2 separate regions of the Homo sapiens genome follow, and region 1 is linked to region 2. The links are contacts of gene promoters, found by promoter capture Hi-C in human tissues and cell types (Jung and others, 2019). All regions are on one chromosome and are shown on one strand. Each heading gives the region's core, a stretch centred on a gene start or on the middle of the fragment in contact. The rest is flanking DNA. Distances are from core to core; before and after follow the strand shown. Region 1 has its middle 580 kb from the start of HTR1E. Region 2 holds the start of HTR1E (5-hydroxytryptamine receptor 1E).

Region 1 (5,625 bases), core at 1,678-4,177, 580 kb after region 2:
TCTCCCCCAGCTAAAATGTAAATTCCATCATGGTGAGGAGTTTTTCTGTTGTTTATATATAGCACCAGTAACTAGAACACTTCCTGGAACATACAAGTGAACACAGAGGTACACAAAAAATATGAACAAATTTATTAGCTTCCACATTTGATGAACTAAGAAATTAACTACCTATATAACAATTAATGTTATACTTTTAATATAATTTTATGGCCGAACAATTTTCACATGTAAGCACATACGCAAAAGATATTTTCAAAAATGTGAATAGACTTAAATGAGAAGATAAACGTTGTCGTCTTTTTCATATTAAAAAGATTTGAAATATATATATTTCAAATATACATTAGGGGAATTGATAACTAAACTGTCATATGTCCCTTTGATATAGGAATTGAAACTATATTTACAAAGATTGATACATAATAAAACTGTAAAAAACTAGAATAAAATATAATATTGTTTTCAAATTTCTGTATGAAAAAGTTTGTCCTAAATTATAAACCAAAGAAAGAAACTAGAAGGAAAAAATTCAATGGAATTTATTACATAAAATTGATATTTTTTCTATGAAAAGAACATTTAAAATACATATTTTAAAAACAAACACTGAAAAAAATCAACAACTGGGAAAAGTATTTGCTCTAAATATCACAAAGAACTGTATCCATAGAACATTTCTGTCTTTATCTGTTTATATTGGTAATATTTAACAGAGAGAACCACTCCCTCCTTGAAGCATTTATTGGCTTGGCTAGGAGGACATTGTTCTCTTGGTAGTCTTCCTACCTCACCAGCTATTTGTTCTTAATCTCCTTTGCTGGTTCCTTTTCACCTCCCCTACTTCTGAATTTTGGAAAGCCCCAAGACTCAGTCCTGTAGGTTTTTCTCTTCCCAATTGACATTCACTTTTTACATGATATAATCCAGTCTCACTGCTATAAAACATCACCTAATTGCTGACATCTTCCAAATTTATATCTTCAGCCTACTCCTCCTTTAACTCGGACTCATGCCCTCAACACTGTACTTATTATCTTCACTCTAATATCTAACAGGCAACTCAGATTCAACAGGGATAAACCCAAATTTTTGCTCTCACTTTCTCAATCTGCTCCTCCTCTAGTATTCCCCATTTGATAAATGTCAACTCACTCTTCCAGTTGCTCAGGTCAATCTTGGAGTTATCCTTTTCCTCTCTCTTTCTCTCCACCCTCTAATCCATTTTTAAATCTTACTAGCTCTAGCATCAAAATAGACCCTGACACTAAGCTATCTCATGACCTCTACTGCTTCTATACAGGTCCAGAGATGAGAAAGCCTCTCTTGCCTGGATTACTGCAATAGCCTCTTTAAGTGGTCTCCTACTTTCACCCTTTTCCTTCTCTATTTCCAATTCAGAATCCTGAATTATCCTTTTAAAATATATCAGATTATGATATTAAAAACCCTGCAATGGCTTTTCATCAAAGTCAGAGTGAAAGCCAAAATCCTACTGTAGCTAACAAGGCACTGTATAAGGTAGTTCAACAGAATTCATGCCTAGAAATGGTCATGCCTCTTCTGCTAAGCCATTAGTGTGGGTGGTTGAGTCAGTGTAGTTAGGAGTTGAACTTGGTTTTGTTGTCACTAAGGTTACTTTCAGGGCATTTCTTCAAATTCCTCTCATGTAACCTTTGTTCAGGGTGGGGGTGCCAGAGGATTTTTCCAATATTCCTGCTCTACTCTCAGTTTTAGGTGAACCAATGCCTATGAGAGGGTCTCTCTCTTTCTCTCTTTGTGCCTTCCCCAAAGATAGTCTGCTGCTGTTTGTTACTTCTTGGTGCTTGTCAGCCTGGTGGGGGGTGGGAAATCTCTGTTACCTGATCTCAGGGTAGGGCTTTCCTTTAGTGACCTTCCCCTTCTTCAGCAGAAGAAGGCCTCTCCAGATCTGGGCTCCTACTACATGGGTAGAAGGTTTACTCCTCTCCCTGCCTTCACAATAGTGGATCTTCCACCAGAGCCTTGGGATAACAGCCTTCGCTATCCTTACCCAAGCCGGATAAGAATTTATTCCTTAGAAATAAGGAAACAGGGAAAATTTCATGTTTCTCACAGTGGTTACTGCCCTCATTTCTGGCCAGCACCACGGACAGTGCATGTGTTTTGTTGCCCTGTCCACCCACCCTGTTCTTTCTCTTGAACACCCAGCAAGTCCGTGAAGAAGAGCCTGCAACTGGGCACAAATGCCCCTCTGTCTTCAGCTCACAGGAATTCTATAATTTCATGCTGACCCACATTCAGCCTTTAACAATTTGACACAAATCTTGGCTTAATGCTTCTAACACCTGCACTTGTAGGGAAGGAAGCCTTGTCTTCCCTGCTTGCTCTCACAGGTGGGACAGTGCTAGTGTCCTGTCACTCCAGGGAGGTGCACTGCTGTCCCTACATTCTTGGCCAGTGAGTTGCCTATGACTTCAGCTCTTATGATTCTAAGAAAAGATATTATTTTGTAAATTATCCAGGTTTTCCTTATTATTTTTTCATTATTAGGAGTGATGTTCTTTCCAGCTTTCTAGATCCTCGTGAAAGACAAAAGTCCCACCCAGATTTATCTTAAGTCATTTATCTTAAGAAAACAATAAGTACATACAATGATATTTATTTGAAGTGTTATGCATTTTGGTATATTTTTAAATTAAGTAAAATTAGAAAAACTCAAACTTTGGCTTTAGTCAGCATAAATAATAGTAGCCACTGAAACAAACAAGCTTCACTTCCTGGAGGCTTCACACAATAACATTTATTTCCTAGTCACACCAGAATTTGATGCAGGCTGAGGGACTTTCTTGTGTGGTTCTCCTCCAAGTGGTGACTTTGAGGGATGTCTTTCTATATAAAACTCTATTGTCTGAGTCCTTCTGCTTCTGCAGAGAAAGAAAAGAAAAGAAAGAAAAAGAAAAAGAAAAGAAAGTAAAAGAAAAGGAAAGAAAAGAAAAGGAGACTGAAAGGTATATTTTAGGGGCCAGGCCTGATATTCCTGGCCCAGATTTCATTGACCATTAGTCAGTTATATGACATCAGTCTAACTGCAAGAGAGGTTTGAAAATATCGTCTTTCTGGGTGCCTAGGAAGAGGAAATGGGATTGATGATCATCTAACTAGTCTATGCCACAGTGTCATCACAGAAAAAAAAAATTAAATTATGCCACATTTATATATTGGAATATTATCTATTCTTTAAAATTGTGCTTTTGTAACAATTCTAATACTGATGGAAAACTCTTGAGACATAACATTAAATAAGAAAAAATATAAATTATAAGATACACAATGATTCCAATTATTGTGTATATGTACATATACATATACATTTATGGCAATAAAAAGACTAAGAGAATATTCACATAATTCATTGGCTTTCCTTTAATCTTTATTTTCTATAATTGATATTGATTATAGGTGATTTTTTCCCTATAACATCTATATTTTCCATATTTTTACAATAAGCTTGTATGATTTGATGATAAAATTGTTTAACTATTGTTTATTTTAGGGTATAATTTAGAAAAAATATATCAGGAGTGTTTTGAGAAAACTAGGGCATTGAAACTGCAGGGAGTAAGTTTTTGCAGCAACTTCGTGAATAGTACATATTTTATATTCACAGCCTGCAAATAATTATCATTTTCATAGTACGACTCATTTGATTAGCTAATCTTGATCTAAAGACAACACTTGTGCTTCTAAAAGTGAAATACTAGTTACTATAGATACCATCTTTTAAAAGTGCCTTTTAAGTTATTATTAAATGAGGTCCTAGTAAAATAATGTTTCAATTAATAATAAATCTGGATAATTAATAGCTAATATGAGTAAACGAAAATGCATGGAATCATGTAAAGATACTCCTTTTCCCATTTAACTTTTCATACTGAATTGGGCACTAAGTCATCTTTCCTCTAACTTCTTAATTTGTGTAGAGGCAATCCGTCCTGTCCTTTCCCACCCCAGTTGTTTGTATTTACCTTTACTGATACTCTCTGTTTAGTCACCTCCTTCCCAGCCTTCCTTTCTCAAAACTATTATCAGGATGATTTTTCCAAAACGCAAGTCTGATCCTGGGTAGGAGTAGAGCTGAGAAATAGGGAGACCTCATGCTTGCAAGGCACATGGGAAAAGACTCCAGGGCAGGGTGAGCACTTGGCCCAGAGTGCGTGCTCAGTGAACAACAAGATAGAAAAATCTGACCACAGGATTCTGTGGGGAGGCTGTTTGTGCTGCAGGACAGGGTTCCTGCTAGGGTGCTAAAGGAGATGAGAGCAGACAGGAAAGGCAAGCCATTCATTTGAATTTGAAGCTGTGGCTAAAAGTTTTGGTTTGATATGTAGAGCAAAAGTGAGAAGCTACTCAAGGATTCTGAGCACTGCAGTGACAAGAATAGAAAATTAGATCTATTTTCTCTCTCCAATTTTCCTGATATAACAATGAGAGCTTTTGTCCACTTTTAGAAGATTTGGATGAAAGCAGGCATTCGAATTTTCTCTTAGGCTGTTAGCTCACTTCATTTAATATTTAGCCATATTAGTAATATCTAAGAAGTGTGTATATGCTGCTTTTTGTTATTATTTTTTACTATTTAAATAAATTCACTCTTTAAAACTAAATGATTGGTTTAAGGTTACTGTGAGCAAAAAAAAATCTGGCCATCACCATTACTTCCTGGGTCTACCCTCTGTGATGGCAGATAAGGAGCCCTTTCACCCATCCTTTGTAACCCCAGGGCCATGCCCACAGGAATGTTCTTCCCCATTCTCTCTCTTGCTATGCTTCTGATAGGCAGATAAGGACCCTGTGACTCAGAAAGGGGATCTACAAAAGAAATACTCTATAAAAAATAAAAGCCATTAGGATTTAAATATATTACCCTCTTTTATGTAACAAATTTTAAAAAATATTAATAGGTATGATAAGATGTTTCATTTCTCTAGTTAATATTACTACAGAAAAGTAGAATTCAAAGTCAGGAAATGAAACAGCAAAAAGGCTGTAATTTGATAAATGAGAAGAAGCAATTGTAGCTCCCACTTTCCAGAGCACCAGCAGTCTTACCTTTCTGCCCTCTCTCCATCACAAGCATGAAAAATCTTCACAAATTTTGCATGCTTTTTATCACTGTACATCTAATTACCTTCTCATGAAAAATTATTTAAAGAGAGATGTTTTATAGCATAAAAACAATACATCTAAAATATTAGACCTGAAAAGGAAGGCCTACAAAACCATATTGGTAGAGGAAAAACACTAGTTTATAATAGTTCCCCCACTATGGGCCCTGAACCTGATCCCTGGTCTCATTTTCAGGCCTTTGTTTAGGCTCATAGTAAGAAGTGGGGTGCAAGATTTTGAAACAAGCTTCACTTGCACCCCAAAAGCTGGTGGATGGCTGTTTGAATATGTACAGATTGATAAATAAAGGGCTTCATGAGAATGAAAATAAATAAATAAATAAGAGGTTTAGAAGCAGCAGCTCTCTGCTAAAGAGACCAAAATAGAACTAAATTCTCTTGTTCTATACATTTCTGTGTATGATTTGTCTGAAATTAGGATCTATTTTCCCTTCCTTTTCTGGAGAGAAGCTGCTCT
Region 2 (5,675 bases), core at 3,034-5,533:
GGTCATTAGGAGGATCTGAGAGTTTTAGAACTGCTAGCTGCTGCTGCTGGTAGCTATTTCTCAAAATATTTTCTTCTTGCTATAAAATGCTTTCCTTCTCATACCAGATTTCATAAAGACCTTCCATCTGGTCTGCACTGATAACTAGAATCCAGAGATGCTCATTCCTCTTACAACTTGTAGTTTAAAATGATCCAGATGCAGAAGGATTAGGTTTCATAGCTTCTTCTAAAGGATTTTGTCTTCCTAATCCTACAACTGCATGTGTTGAGAATTGATCAGCATGAGAGAGTGCTAACAATAAACCTATTAAAGTGTCCAGTTTTTCATTTGACGTGTTTTAGGGGAATACAACAATGGGATCAAAACACTGACATCTATTCAGGTAAGGACTGCAGTAAACCAGATAATCCACAGTGCATGAGACAAAATAAGAGAACTAAAAATGAAAGACAAAATTATAGTCAATCTGTATTAGAAAGAGGGTTCTCAAGAATTTTATCAATTTGTTGTGATCCGGGAATATGCCAATTGATTGAGTGATCTCTATAAATTCTGGTTCTCAGTTTCTTAATCCACAAAATGTGGGAACGAATAAAAAGTAGCTGGGATTTTGATGAAAGTCCTTTCATCACCAGGAAGATGAACTTTGGTAAGTTGACTGACCTAAGCCCCAAATTTTAGGGGCCACAATACTGGTTCTAGAAAATGATTCAGGGAGGAGAAAACAAGAGAGAAGTAAGTCACTCTAAAGTGCTGCTGCCCCATTTCTCTTCCCTGTTCATCTGTCCCCTCGTCACTTGTGACGGCACACTCATCTTCAATGTTTCCCTGGGGTTTATGTTCATATAATTTCACATGTAATAAAAATCTGGTAGGTGCAGAAGAAAGGAGCATAAAGCATGAGATGCTAAACTCACCTCTGCCTTGAGATGGCCTTGATAATTTACGGCATAAAAAGTAAGTTCCTATTTGGTAGAAATTCAGCTTTTGATCAGTCTCAAGCTTATTTTTTTGTGTAAATAAGCTTGTAGAAATAGAGGGAATGCTTTCCCACATTAGAGCGTTAGATTTGATCTTTCACTTTTAAAGGGTAGTGCAGAAATAGAATTCCAGGGTGGGCAATCAAAACAAACATGAAAAAAATGATCTGTGTGTAAAAGTGAGATGTAGGGAATTAGACTTGAGTAATGAGAAGATGACACAAAAGTTCAGGGCCTGAGGCTTTCTGCAAAGAGACCTACTTTCTTTTTCTTTCTTTTCTTTTCTTTTTTTGAGACAAGGCCTTGCTCTGTCACCTAGGCTGTAGTGCCGTGGCACAAACTTGGCTCACTGCAACTTTGGCTTTCTGGGCTCAAGCGATCCTCTCACTTCAACCTCCCAAGTAGCTGGGACTACAGGTACACACCACTATACTTGGCTCATTTTAAATTTTTTTGTAGAGATGAGTTCTCATTATTTTGCTCAGGCTGGTCTCGAACTCATGGGCTCATGTGATCCTCCTGCCTTGGCCTCCTAAAGTGTTGGAATTACAGGTGTGACCCATCATGCCTGGCTGAGATCTACTTTTCATTTGCAGCCTTGGTATCTTGGTGGTGGTGGGGGTAGCATATTGAGCCCACCTGGGGAATGGGTGGTGCTTGAGCCAGGTGGGGACAATGTGCTGTGAATGATATACCTTACTTCCCTCTTCAATAATAACCCCATCACGCAGCAGGAAATTGAAATATATTGCAGTGTTACCTGAACTAGAGGTGTGTCCTGGATTTTGTCTCTTCCTAGGCACCACTTCTGAAAAACGCTGACTTCGTTATCTTCCTCAAAAGAATGGAAACTTATTTACATGATTGTTGCTGACCAGGCATCGATAAGAAGAAATGGGGAGCAAATATTTTGTATAGACACCAGAATGGCTAATAAAGGTGACATCACGCTGAGTTGCAAGGTAGGCACCATTCCCTTGGGCAAATGTTGAGAGACATGAGCCATCGTTTCCATGCACTTGGTCTGGGACTAGGCCTTGAATGAAGTCATTATGGCAGAAGAGGAAAGAATGAAAACTTGATTTTACTATGCTTGTGATGCTGATTTCTGTGGAATTTAAAACTTGTTAGCTGGTGGATACACATTGTTAATTTGAATACTCTTCATTATAAAAATAATCTGCTAAGTTTTCATCCCTGGAAATTGTTATGAAAGCGAAAACAAGCACGTAAGGGAATATTTGAACATGCATATACCTAATGACCAGAGTCATGGCTACACTTTAAAAGGCTCCTTTCTAGCTCTGTTACTAGAAGTCTCAATTGAGATCTATAGCAATCCTTGGAGCTTCTGCAGCCCATGTCAGGTGATGATGACACAATAGTTAAGTTCTATCAACAATGATGAATCAGGATTTGAGTGAGTTTCTCTATATAGCTCTCTTAGTGATGAAATACCTCTATGCAGCAAAATAGTTAGTGGTGAGGTGCTATGCAATTTTAGAAATAAGCAACATACTCTGTTTTAAATATGATACAGAAACTGAGCTGAGTCCCACTTAGGAGGTGGGCTTCATCATCACAACTCCGTGGGCTGGAGGCTAAAGCTCTGAAGGGAGGAAAAACAGAGGCAGGCATATTTTGTGCATTTGTTAAATGGGCCTCAAATGCCTCCATTCATTTATTTGTTGAAGACAGGGTCATCTCATTTAATTCAGCAGGAAAGCAACTGTACCAGAAAGAGAAAAGCTGTCTCAATCTTCTCTGTATTTCAAAGGTATTTCACATATGCTCCTCATGAAGGAGACCGCACAGGGAATCAGACCCACGTGCCTGCTTTGCCTCTCTTGCGCAGGATTAAGTAAGGGAAGCCCCTGATTCACAAGTGCATCCTGGCTGTTTAAGGTTATGCATATTGTGTCTGAATGTACAACTATGATAAATATATATTCTGGAGCAATGTTAAATTCAGCTTAGGACGATGTACTGCTTAGAGCTTTGAGGGAAAACATAAGAATGATAAAATGAGCCTAAATTATTTTGGAAAAAACACTGCTCCCCCAACCCATTTGACGATCTATTATTTCCTCCTGGGCTGCTCCCTCCCCAAGAGATTTGGTGCAGGAGGCAAGGAAGGACAATAAGAAAGGTTAGGAAGAAACACCTTGGGATGCTGACACCATCTGCCTTATCCTTCTAACTCAAGGACAAGCAGCGTTGGGTTGAATACAAGGTCCTTTCTTCCAAAACTGGGCACAGGCAGAAATATACATATAGATGCAAAACCACTATGATCCTGTGATAGGAGCTGGAATCACTTCCCTTTAGACTCAATTTCCTTTCCTTTTCGTTAGGTAGGGGGTCAGCCTCTCACCTTGCAGTATTGGGTGGAGATGGCTTAAGACCAAACTTCTCATCTTAACTCTTACTTCCAAGATTTATTTTGTATTTTAAAAAAAATGAGCCTGCCTCATTACCTCCACACCTGGGCATTTTGTTTATCAGGACTGAGCACAGTATTATTTTCTGAGGGCTGGAGCAACAGTGCAGTCCTTTCTAATCAAAGGTTTTTTAATCAGCTGGCTTTGAAATCACACAGTTCTTCCGGGGTCCCTGGAGCACACCACCTCCCTGTGATTTCTACTCAAGTTTTCCCTGGCCCCCCCCAGCACCCGTTCCATACCTATTTAATCTTTAAGCTGCCTCTAATCCTTTTGCAAGGAAGCAGGATGAAATGCTCAAACCACAGTTATACACAATGTTGATTCTCAGGTTCACACATTTGAGGAATTGTTTGAACAAGAAATGCTCTCTGTACTATAATCCAGGGTGCAGGCACGGTGCCCGGGCGACCCTCAGTCTCCCTCCGACACCCCGCATCCCAACTCCCGCCGCCTTTGCGCCTCAAAGCTGGCAAACATCCCCAAGCCAGAGCTGGAGTACCTGGAGTGGGTGGGGGTAAGAAGGGAAGCCAAGGTCGTCCCGGAAGGTGTGCGCCCCTCACCTTGTGGACGGTGCGTGCAGCCGCGCCGCACTGGGCAAACCGGCACGTCCAGCTGGCTCCAGAAGTCTCACTCGGAACCCGCTCCTTTTTCTCCTGAGCTGGATCAGAGCACTGCTTCTCTCAACATTCGATTCTGGAGTACGTTGAGCCCAGGGCGTTCTCCCCGCCAGCGTCCTTGCCCGCGCCAGTGCCCGCCGGGGTGCGGCGAGACAGAACCTGGGAGCGCGGCGCGCCGGGCAGCCCGAGGCACCGCTGGTGGCAGGCGCTGCGCTTCGCCGAGTCTGGGCGCCTGGACTGGAAGAGGAGGCGAGAGGGAGAGAGCGGGGAAGAGGAGGAGGAGGAGCAGGAGCAGGAGCATGGGCAGGGGCAGTCTGCTAAATCATCTACGCAGGTCGCAGCCTCCCGGGACACCGTGAACGGAGAGGGGGGTGGTGGGTGTGGGATGAAAAGATGAGCCCGGGTGTGAGGCAGGTGGTATTGTGAACTGGAGGTCGCAGCTCCGAGGTACTCCAGGTCTTGCTTAGGTTATAAAAGAGAAATTCTGGAGCTGATGGCGCCTTAGGGCTCCCGGTTGCAGACACTAGAGGGCAGGGCTGTCCATGTTATAAACCGGGCCAGCGGGGTTGGAGGTGTGGGCAAGGGACTCACCTCCTGAGCCCCTTGCCGGCCACAGCCCTGGCGGAGAAGGGGAAAATAGATACAACAAGGGGGCAGACCCTACTCCCTTCTTCTGTAGCGAGCCTGGGTTGAGGAGGGAGAGGAACGGCGGGAGCAGTTGACGGGTTTGCACGCTTTCTCTACGCGGTTCCAATGGCAAACAGACCCTCTGGAGGTGCATTTCTTAGCCCTCCTCCAGGGGAGATTACAGTCAACATCCACAGGATGCCTCAAGGAGAGAGATTACAAGGAAGGGGTGAGGGAGAAGTGGACGAAAATTGGGGTGGGTCAAAGTGGAAGGGGGGAAGAGAGGTGGGGAAAGCAGTGAAGAAAAGGAGACGGAGAGTGGAGTGGTTGGGGCTGAAAGACCTGCTGAAGCAGCCTTGCCATTTTTTTTTTTTTTGAGGGAAGTCTACCTGGGCGCCATCTCAGGTTGTCAGAGGGCTTTGTGCTCTTCTGAGGGTGCCAGGGGCTGTTCTTTTTGTTGTTCTGCTGCCGCAAGGTCAGAAAAGTTAAGCTGGGAGGGACTTTGCAGAATCCTGGCATTGCTAAAAGAAGCTTCCTTACGGCTGGTTGGTTATTCTCTGTGGAGAACTTGGGTGACTCAACATTGAAGCCTAACATGGATTGAGCCCCTGCCATTGTAAAAAAGAAAATCAGATTGTTCAAACTAGCCATAAAATGAACTAGACAATCTTATGGAGACAGTATGATCTGTAGACAGCCTGATACACAAACCTTAGAGTTGAAAGGACCTTGGAAACCATGTAGGCAACTTGGGTAGCTGCCCCAAACACCTGCCTCACACTTTTCTTTCTGGTTTGTAGCCTTATGGCTGATTTGAAAAACACTTTAAGTTATTTATTTATTTTTTGAAGTTTGACAATTCTAAACCAAATGAAACCCTTCTTCAGTTCAAAAAGCGAGCCTGTGTGCCCTTCTCCTGCCTTCTAGAGCGCCTCTCAAGGCCAGCAGGGGTTGACTGATGGATTATCAGGGGAATTTCACTGAACAAGAGAAAGGAAGGTTGG

What was found. Contacts are between HindIII fragments. The study calls those that stand out against the background at their distance.
Region 1: a fragment that was not itself captured here is called in contact with the fragment with the promoter of HTR1E in region 2 in 2 of the 25 tissues and cell types used here (aorta and liver).

The regions. Positions count from the first base shown.
Region 1 is chr6:86,354,619-86,360,243 of GRCh38, reverse strand. No RefSeq gene overlaps it. Among named protein-coding and RNA genes, the nearest start is that of HTR1E, 580 kb to the left of the region's middle. The HindIII fragment of the contact is 5,559 bases long and covers 148-5,625 here.
Region 2 is chr6:86,936,136-86,941,810 of GRCh38, reverse strand. HTR1E (5-hydroxytryptamine receptor 1E) reads right to left here and starts at 4,283. Exons shown (of 2, transcript NM_000865.3): 1 at 3,988-4,283. RefSeq lists enhancers at 3,389-3,943, 3,944-4,499. The HindIII fragment of the contact is 9,684 bases long and covers 1-5,675 here.